Linked DNA regions of Homo sapiens: region 1 is linked to region 2. Evidence: promoter capture Hi-C in 16 types of primary human blood cells and fetal thymus (Javierre and others, 2016). All regions are on one chromosome and are shown on one strand. The core of a region is centred on a gene start or on the middle of the fragment in contact, and the rest is flanking DNA. Distances in the headings are between cores, read along the strand shown. Region 1 has its middle 92 kb from the start of CAV2-DT. Region 2 holds the start of CAV1 (caveolin 1).

Region 1 (4,208 bases), core at 1,700-4,199, 120 kb before region 2:
GTAGAGACAGGGTTTCACCATGTTGGTCAGGCTGGTCTGGAATTCCTGACCTCAGGTGATCCACCCGCCTCGGCCTCCCAAAATGCTGGGATTACAGGCATGAGCCACCGTGCCCAGCCTGATTTAGGAGATTTTTTGAATGAATGTTTCCCCATTTGGTGTAGGCTCTTAGGACAAGTTCAAGAGACTCTAAATAACTGTTTGGTTTTTTATTTTCCCCCAGTTACACGTTTTTGTGCTAGGGAAAGAGTCTACCATGTGCCTCACTCTGTCATTGTTACCTCTCAAGATTTCTTGGGCCTAGGCTTCAAAATGGTGCACCATCGCTTCTGCTATATTTTTACAAGATCGGCCTAAATTTAAGAAGCAGGAAAATAGACTCCACCTCCAGATTGGAAGAATCACAAAGTCACACTGCCAAGGGTTTAGATGCAGGGAAACTTAGATAACTGAGAACACAGTCAATTCACTAGCAGAGGAATACCTTTCTGAGACTTCCTCAGTAGATTTCTCTTCTGGTCCACCAGGCAGGATTGGATCACATGCCTGTGCTCCAGCAGCAAGAAGGACTCGGATAGGCAGAGTCTGACATTTTCAAGTTCCAAAGTGAGAAGCAGACTTTGCCAGTGTTGAGGACTAGGGAGAAAGTGGCTCTGTGGCAGGCAACCCATAGTGTCTGCCAAAATGTACAATCTTTCACCTCAATTTGAGAGGGCAGTTCAATAGTATTTAGACAAGAACAAAAGTACTGCCCAGTGTCAAATATAATTAAAATTAAATATTTATTTAATTTTTACTTATTAAAATTAAATATTTATTTAATTTTTACTTATTAAAATTAAAATTAATTTTATTAAAATTATTGTTATTTGTAATTATTTATAACGTATTTATAATTATTTATTAAAACTAAAATTAAATATTTATTCAAAAATAGGAATAAATATTCCTAGCTCATGATATATACTTTGGAAGGTTTGTGAGAAGACGCTGGATATTAAGAAAAACATTCAGAAGAAATACATTAAACCATTGGAGGCTAAGGAAAAGAACAGTGAAAGTTGCAGTCCATTTGAATACATTTTTAACAAATTGCTATCTATGTACTTGGAGTAGCCTGATCATAATATCATAAAAGTAACAATTGATATCACTATATCATTTATAGGATTTTAAAAATACATTACATATGCCAGACACTTTGTCAAGTATATTACATATGTACATATGTTACATATATAATATACATGATATATGCCAGACACTTTGTTAAGCATATTACATGTGTTAAGTATGTTATATGACCTTATGAAGTAGATTTTTTTATCTTTTAAAAATAAAAAGAAATAAACCTCATATAAGTTAGATTAATTGGGCTCAGTTAACTCAGTTAATAAATGACAAATATCCATATTCAAACCTACATCTATCAGGTTCCCTAGTGTGAAATCTTTCTACATATCATGCTTTCTCTTTTTTTTTTTTTTTTTTTTTTTTGAGATGGAGTCTCACTCTGTCGCCCAGGCTGGAGTGCAGTGGTGCCATCCCAGCTCACTGCAAGCTCCGCCTCCCAGGTTCATGCCATTCTCCTGCCTCAGCCTCCCGAGTAGCTGGGACTACAGGCGCCTGGCCACCATGCCTGGCTAAATTTTTGTATTTTTAGTAGAGACAGAGTTGCACTGCAGCCAAGATGGTCTCAATCTCCTGACCTCGTGATCCTCCCCTCTTGGTCTGCCAACGTACTGGGATTACAGGCATCAGCCACCGTGCCCAGCCATCATGCTTTCTTTACTAAGCACATAGAAGAAAAAGAAAAAAAAGGAAAACTTGGGAAAGCAGGAAGTATGACATTGCTGAGATGATAGCATGGCTGTGTGAATAACCATAAAACTTGTGACAAAAACATTGTTTGTAACAAACACTTTCCACTCGATACATCAAGAACATCTTTTCATTGTATTGAATGGTAAAAAAGTTTGATAACTACTATCAAGTTTTTTATTCTACTATATGAATATATGACTATTTTAAAATGTATTTCCAATTATAAGTTGAAGAAAGACTATTAAATGTTCAAAATCTTCCTTTTCTATTGTCTAAGCACAGAACTGGAGTGCAGGTCCCAGCTTCCCATACTGTGGAGTGGCCATGCGTTGTCTGGCCCGTGAAATGTGAGCAGAGGGATCTGTGTAACTTACAGGCTCAGCATGAAATATCACCCATGTGACCTCCATATACTTTCTCATGAAGGTCAGCCAAAGACAGAGGCTCTCTTGAAGAGGACTCCTGGGACTCCAGAAATGGAGGAGACATTAAATGGTAGGAGTTTGAGTCTCTGAATAATTATACGAATGCACACTCATCAGGAACATCCATTGTGGAACTTCTGTAAGCAAAAAATATACATTTCTGAATGTTGAGTCATAAAATTTCTGGATTACTTTTTTTTTTATTATACTTTAAGTTTTAGGGTACATGTGCACATTGTGCAGGTTAGTTACATATGTATACATGTGCCATGCTGGTTTTTTAATAAAGGCAAGTACTATTGTTATTTACTCTAAATAATACATGAGCAATGCTTCAGAGGTCCTCTTTGTAGCTAAGTCTTTCTGCAAATACCTAATTATTTACTTAGAAAATATTCTTGGAAGTAGAATTTCTGGTCAAAGGGTATGAACACTTAAAGTTTTTGAAATTGCCTTCCAGAAAGCTTCTGCATTATTTAAAAACCCTACCAGCAAGTCAATGAAAATTTCCAAAACAACTCGCTTCATTAGAATTTAACCATATTTTCTAACATAGATAATTTTGTAAGGAATTTGCTAGGCTCTTGTGTCAGCAATTTTACTAATTATTTATATGTCTTTAAGTCTATGTAACATACCCATCTTTCAATTTGTTTCAAAGATCAAATGTCATGGAATATTAACAGTACATATTTAAAATATTAAAAAATATAAGGTAATACAAAAATAAATTAGATACAAATCTAATTTCATGTATGTAAATGTAACAGTTATACATAGTAACAAATTTTATTCTGCCTTGAAAAGATTATCTGCTAAAACCTTGGCCATATGATCTTTAATTAGATTGTTACTTTGCTGGGTTATCATAGCAGCATTAGTTACTTAACAATACAGATGTTTCCTTTTTGTAGTTTTTATTGGCTCAAGATGAACACAAGCTTTAGTTCAAACAAAAGTGAGAGAGTGCAATTTAAATGAGGAGGTGATAGAATATGCACTAGAAGAGAAAAGGAGATAGATGTGTCGACTGTTTGTTTTGTTTTCTTTTGAAAATTGCTGCGTCTCCACTCCTGGTTTGACACTTGGAGTCCAGAAACTTTCCAACTGTGTTGAACAGAACTTCTGTCTCCCCTTGGGAGCAGCAGCAAGCCAGGGTAGACCACAAGTACCAATGAAAATACCTCATCCTATTTATACTGGGTCACATTTCCCCATTTTTGACAGATAGAACCTTTGGAGAAGAATATTAATGACCATTGGGAGATGACACTAGTCATTTAGGGAAACACTCAATAAATAGGCAAGTGATACTTCACACAGGGACTCCCTAGATTTGCAAAATGCTTATACCCCAGAGGAAGCTTTTCCTGGAGATGTGATAATTTCTTTTTTAGGATAATAAAGCTTAATTCTGTAGAACTACCAGACAAAGCAAGACAGTCCACTAGGGAGGAGCCAAGATGGCCGAATAGAAACAGCTCCGCTCTACAGCTCCCAGCGTGAGCGACGCAGAAGACGGGTGATTTCTGCATTTCCATCTGAGGTACCGGGTTCATCTCACTAGGGAGTGCCAGACAGTGGGCACAGGTCAGTGGGTGCGCGCACCGTGCGCCAGCCGAAGCAGGGCGAGGCATTGCCTCACTCAGGAAGCACAAGGGGTCAGGGAGTTCCCTTTCCTAGTCAAAGAAAGGGGTGACAGACGGCACCTGGAAAATCGGGTCACTACCACCCGAATACCGCACTTTTCCGACAAGCTTAAAAGACGGCGCACCAGGAGGTTATATCCCGCACATGGCTCGGAGGGTCCTACGCCCGTGGAGTCTCGCTGATTGCTAGCACAGCAGTCTGAGATCAAACTGCAAGGAGGCAGCAAGGCTGGGGGAGGGGCGCCCGCCATTGCCCAGGCTTGCTTAGGTAAACAAAGCAGCCGGGAAGCTAGAACTGGGTGGAGCCCAC
Region 2 (4,260 bases), core at 528-3,027:
ATAAATAAGCTTATTTTAAAGCATTCCAAATTTTTTAACTTTTATTTTAGGTTCAAGAGTACATGTGCAGGTTTGTTAAATTTTGTGTCACAGGGATTCGTTGTACAGATTATTTCATCACCCAGCTACAAAGCCTACTCCCCAATAGTTATTTTTCTGCTCCTCTCCCTCCCCGACGCTCCACCCCTCAAGTGGGCCCCAGTGCCTGTTTTTTCCCTATTTGTTTCCATGAGTTCTCATCATTTAGCTCCCACTAATGTGGTATTTGGGAAAATCCAACTTTTGAAAGATCTTTAGTCTGCTAATCATGAATGGCCAACATAATTACAGGCATGCCAACATTTGTAACATTGTGACACTTTCCCTGCCATTCTTAGTTAAAACTGATCTTTTGTTCCAAAAATTTTTGCTACCAACAATAGCCTGTCCTTTATAGTTCTTTTATACTTTTGTGTCTTCTCTCTAACTAAATAATCAACTCTTTCAGCATTCCATCCATTTCCCTTTCTCCTCCCTCTTACTCCCAACCCACATTCCCCTCTCCATTTTAATTTTAACCTGTGCCCCTTCAAGTGTACTCCAGCTTTTTTTTTAAAATAATTTCAAGTGATACTTTGACTTTTGACTGCATATGGAAGCATAAGTAACATGTCCTTTCATTTTTGGATAATGAGTTTCCTGATTAATTACAGCTCAAGAGTAAAATGACTGATTACTATTTAATTCATTTTGTGCTTCTTTACAATAAAGTAAAGACAGAAGCCCCAGATTCAGGAACAGACAAAATACTTTAATCGCTATCACATTTTTTTTAAGTCTAGTCAATTAGAAAAGTCAAATCTTTCCTCACAGCCAAGCACATTAAAAAAAAATCTTCTCTGGTAATAAACTTGAAGCTTTAAATAATTCTACAATTATAAACATTTTGTGTATTTTGCAAATATGGCATAACCTGTTGGCATAAAATTCCATTGTTCCAGAAAATATCGGTAATAAAATTATAGAAAAGTTAAAGATCTTCATTTCTTATTTCGAAGCGTTTGGGAGACATTTCAGAAACGGATGGGAAATGTTAAATTCTGCATGCCTGCTTAAGTTTCCATCCACACCGACTAGATGTAAACGAGTGTCACCAAAAGTACACCACAGGCACCCACACAGATTCCTTCCATAAGGGATCCACAAAGTTTAGATGTGAAATGTACCTAAAGGTTCCTAGCCGTCTTTCATCCCTCCCTCTGTGAAACAGGGAGACACATGTGTTTTAAGGCAGAGATGGAACTTGGGCGATGGGCGGGGGGTGGGGGAGGTGGGAAGGGACGGCTTAGGACAGGGCAGGATTGTGGATTGTTTCTGCCGCCTTGGTTGCCCATACTGGGCATCTCTGCAGGCGCGTCGGCTCCCTCCACCCCTGCTGAGATGATGCACTGCGAAAACATTCGCTCTCCCCGGGACGCCTCTCGGTGGTTCAGAGCAGGGAAAATGTTGCCTCAGGTTTAAAATAATCTGCCCAAGCACCCCAGCGCGGGAGAAACGTTCTCACTCGCTCTCTGCTCGCTGCGGGCGCTCCCCGCCCTCTGCTGCCAGAACCTTGGGGATGTGCCTAGACCCGGCGCAGCACACGTCCGGGCCAACCGCGAGCAGAACAAACCTTTGGCGGGCGGCCAGGAGGCTCCCTCCCAGCCACCGCCCCCCTCCAGCGCCTTTTTTTCCCCCCATACAATACAAGATCTTCCTTCCTCAGTTCCCTTAAAGCACAGCCCAGGGAAACCTCCTCACAGTTTTCATCCAGCCACGGGCCAGCATGTCTGGGGGCAAATACGTAGACTCGGAGGTAGGCATCCGTGGGGGGGCGCCGGCTCGGGCGTGCGGGGAGTGTCCGCTTCTGCTATCTGCCTCTCCAAATATCCCGACTGCTGCCCTGGCCCCAGCCCTCTCTCCACTTCGGAGCACTCCTCTGGCGTTGGCACCGCTGAGGAATGGGCCTGGGCGGGGAGGTGAAGAGAAGCCAGGAATGTTTTATGTTTTCCTAATGGAGAGGGGGCCTAGGGAGCCCCTGAGCTAGGAGGACACGGAAAAGGGGATTGGGGTCCTGAGATTGGGTCTGTTGGGCCCAGGACGCGTTTTCTGGATGGGTCTAGGATGCTCCCTTGTCGCGGGACCCCCGCGGTCCGGCCCTGCCTGCTGGGGGTTCGAAGAGGTGGAGTGCAGGGTGGAGGTGTTATTTACCCGAGTCCTGGGGACAGTCCCCGGGACTCTCCGCCAGGCGCCCAGACCGGCAGGTCCCGCAGGCGGCGCGCGGTGTGTTTGCACTTTCCAAAGTTCTTGAACCATCTCAAGAACTCCTTCTGCATCTTGGCGTCTGGCAGGGGTGTTCCGAGAGAGGTAGACCTCCCCTCCCCAAACTGCCACCATCACTTCCAACGCCCTCCACGCGCTGGAGCTCTGCCCGGGTGTGGAAACCTCGTCTTCCAACACGTAGCTGCCCTTCAGCCACCCGCCCGCAGCCTGGGAGTGCCCTGAGGGTGGGTCGGGGGAGCTGCGCAGGTGAGACTGAGTTCTAGGACATTTAGGGGGTCTGGTGCCTGGCTCCGCCAAAAATGGGGACTTTCGGGATTGTGATCATCACGGCGGATTGAGCAGGGAGAGCCGTGGAGGGACAAGAGAGGGCCGAGGCAGGGTGGGGGGCGCGGGCAGGTGCGAGGGGGATGCGGCCAAGAAGCAGCGATAAAGGGAACATTCCACGGGTCGGGCGGCTGCTGTTGGATCTTAGATAAAGCTGGAAGGGATTACCGGGGCAGGGGTAATAGGGACCGGGGACGGGAACGCGAAACAGGTGAAGCGCTCAGGGCGAGAGCGACTCGGCTTAGGGAGTCCGGGAGAAGCCTGCGGCTGCCCCCTCGCCGCCGAGGTCCTGCGGGTCCTGCGGGTCCTGCGTGCTGAGCCGGGGCGTGCGCGGGCGGGGGCCTTCGGACCGCGCGGCGGGGCCTGCCCTGACCCCTGGCGGCGGGCGGGGGAGGCAGGCGCGCCCTGCAGAGTACAGAGGGGTGTGGTGTCCTCTGCGAGATCCTCTTAAAAAGCTGGCTACGCGCAGGCGGTTTCTGTGCACGGAGCCGTAGCTGTCGGAGCGGTTAGTTCGATTTCGAGCTCGAGGTTTCCCCCGCCGCCAGGCTGACTTCTCATCGCTTGTTTTTCTTTTTGCATTTTTCCTCCCACCGCCGTTGCCGCCCTCCCCGTCCTGGCCGTCCGCCCTCCGCCCTCTGCAGGGACATCTCTACACCGTTCCCATCCGGGAACAGGGCAACATCTACAAGCCCAACAACAAGGCCATGGCAGACGAGCTGAGCGAGAAGCAAGTGTACGACGCGCACACCAAGGAGATCGACCTGGTCAACCGCGACCCTAAACACCTCAACGATGACGTGGTCAAGGTAAGCCAAGGCGACCAACAGGGAAGGGCTGGGACAGCTCTCCTCTGGCAGTTAGCCCGTGCATCCTTCTTTAGCATTGCCGTGTACGCACACCCCACCCCGCCCCCTACACGCGCACACACACACACACACAGAGTTTTGTGGGTTTGATGTGTGGGAGCTCCCGCAGTCGGCAGAAACGTTACATCTCCCTTCCCCCATCTCCCCCCAATAGTTAGTTCAGCTGAAATTCAGCTAAAGTGAGTTTTGTAGAAGTTCCTATAACTACACTTTTATCCTAGCAAATGAGCCTATTGACCTCAGCAACAGACGGCCCATACTCCTTGGGACGGTGAGATGGTTCCTATCCATTCCCAGGTTGAAAGTCTAGTGACAGGTCCCCACTGCACGTGGCATTAAGACAGTCAGATAATTGTGTCAGGTCTTGTGCTGAGGATGAGTCAGAATACAAGATGGGCATGTTCCCCCAACTAAAACGATGGGAAGTGATTTTCTTAAAAATACTACAGTGGATGGAAATGCCTAGGACTAAAGACAAAGAAAATACGTACTTATTCATATACATATGAAAGTTACTTTAACTAGACTAACAAGTCACTTGTGCACAACTAAGCAAATTTACAAAACCAAAAACAATGTATGCCTCTTGGTTTCTTCTATCTATGGACACCTGCACTTAGATGTGGAAAGCTGCTTCTTTAGTAGCTACCTGGGTCAGCCTGCCCTGAGCTAATGGCACATTCAGGTTGGAGTTCCTTTTCATACTTTCAGGATGTGCTTGGTGAGATTAAAAATAATTGGACTGGGTTATTGGCCAGACTTAGATCTG

The links. Contacts are between HindIII fragments. The CHiCAGO score rates a contact against its expected background, and 5 or more counts as called.
Region 1: a contact is called between a fragment that was not itself captured here and the fragment with the promoter of CAV1 in region 2, in 1 of 17 cell types (endothelial precursors). The highest score is 7.8, in endothelial precursors.

The regions. Positions count from the first base shown.
Region 1 is chr7:116,405,162-116,409,369 of GRCh38, forward strand. No RefSeq gene overlaps it. Among named protein-coding and RNA genes, the nearest start is that of CAV2-DT, 92 kb to the right of the region's middle. The HindIII fragment of the contact is 477 bases long and covers 2,712-3,188 here.
Region 2 is chr7:116,523,259-116,527,518 of GRCh38, forward strand. It overlaps CAV1 (caveolin 1), which reads left to right and starts at 1,778. Exons shown (of 3, transcript NM_001753.5): 1 at 1,778-1,834; 2 at 3,267-3,431. The coding sequence starts at 1,805. RefSeq lists an enhancer at 1-131 and silencers at 57-351, 2,760-3,149, 3,380-3,479. The HindIII fragment of the contact is 5,040 bases long and covers 895-4,260 here.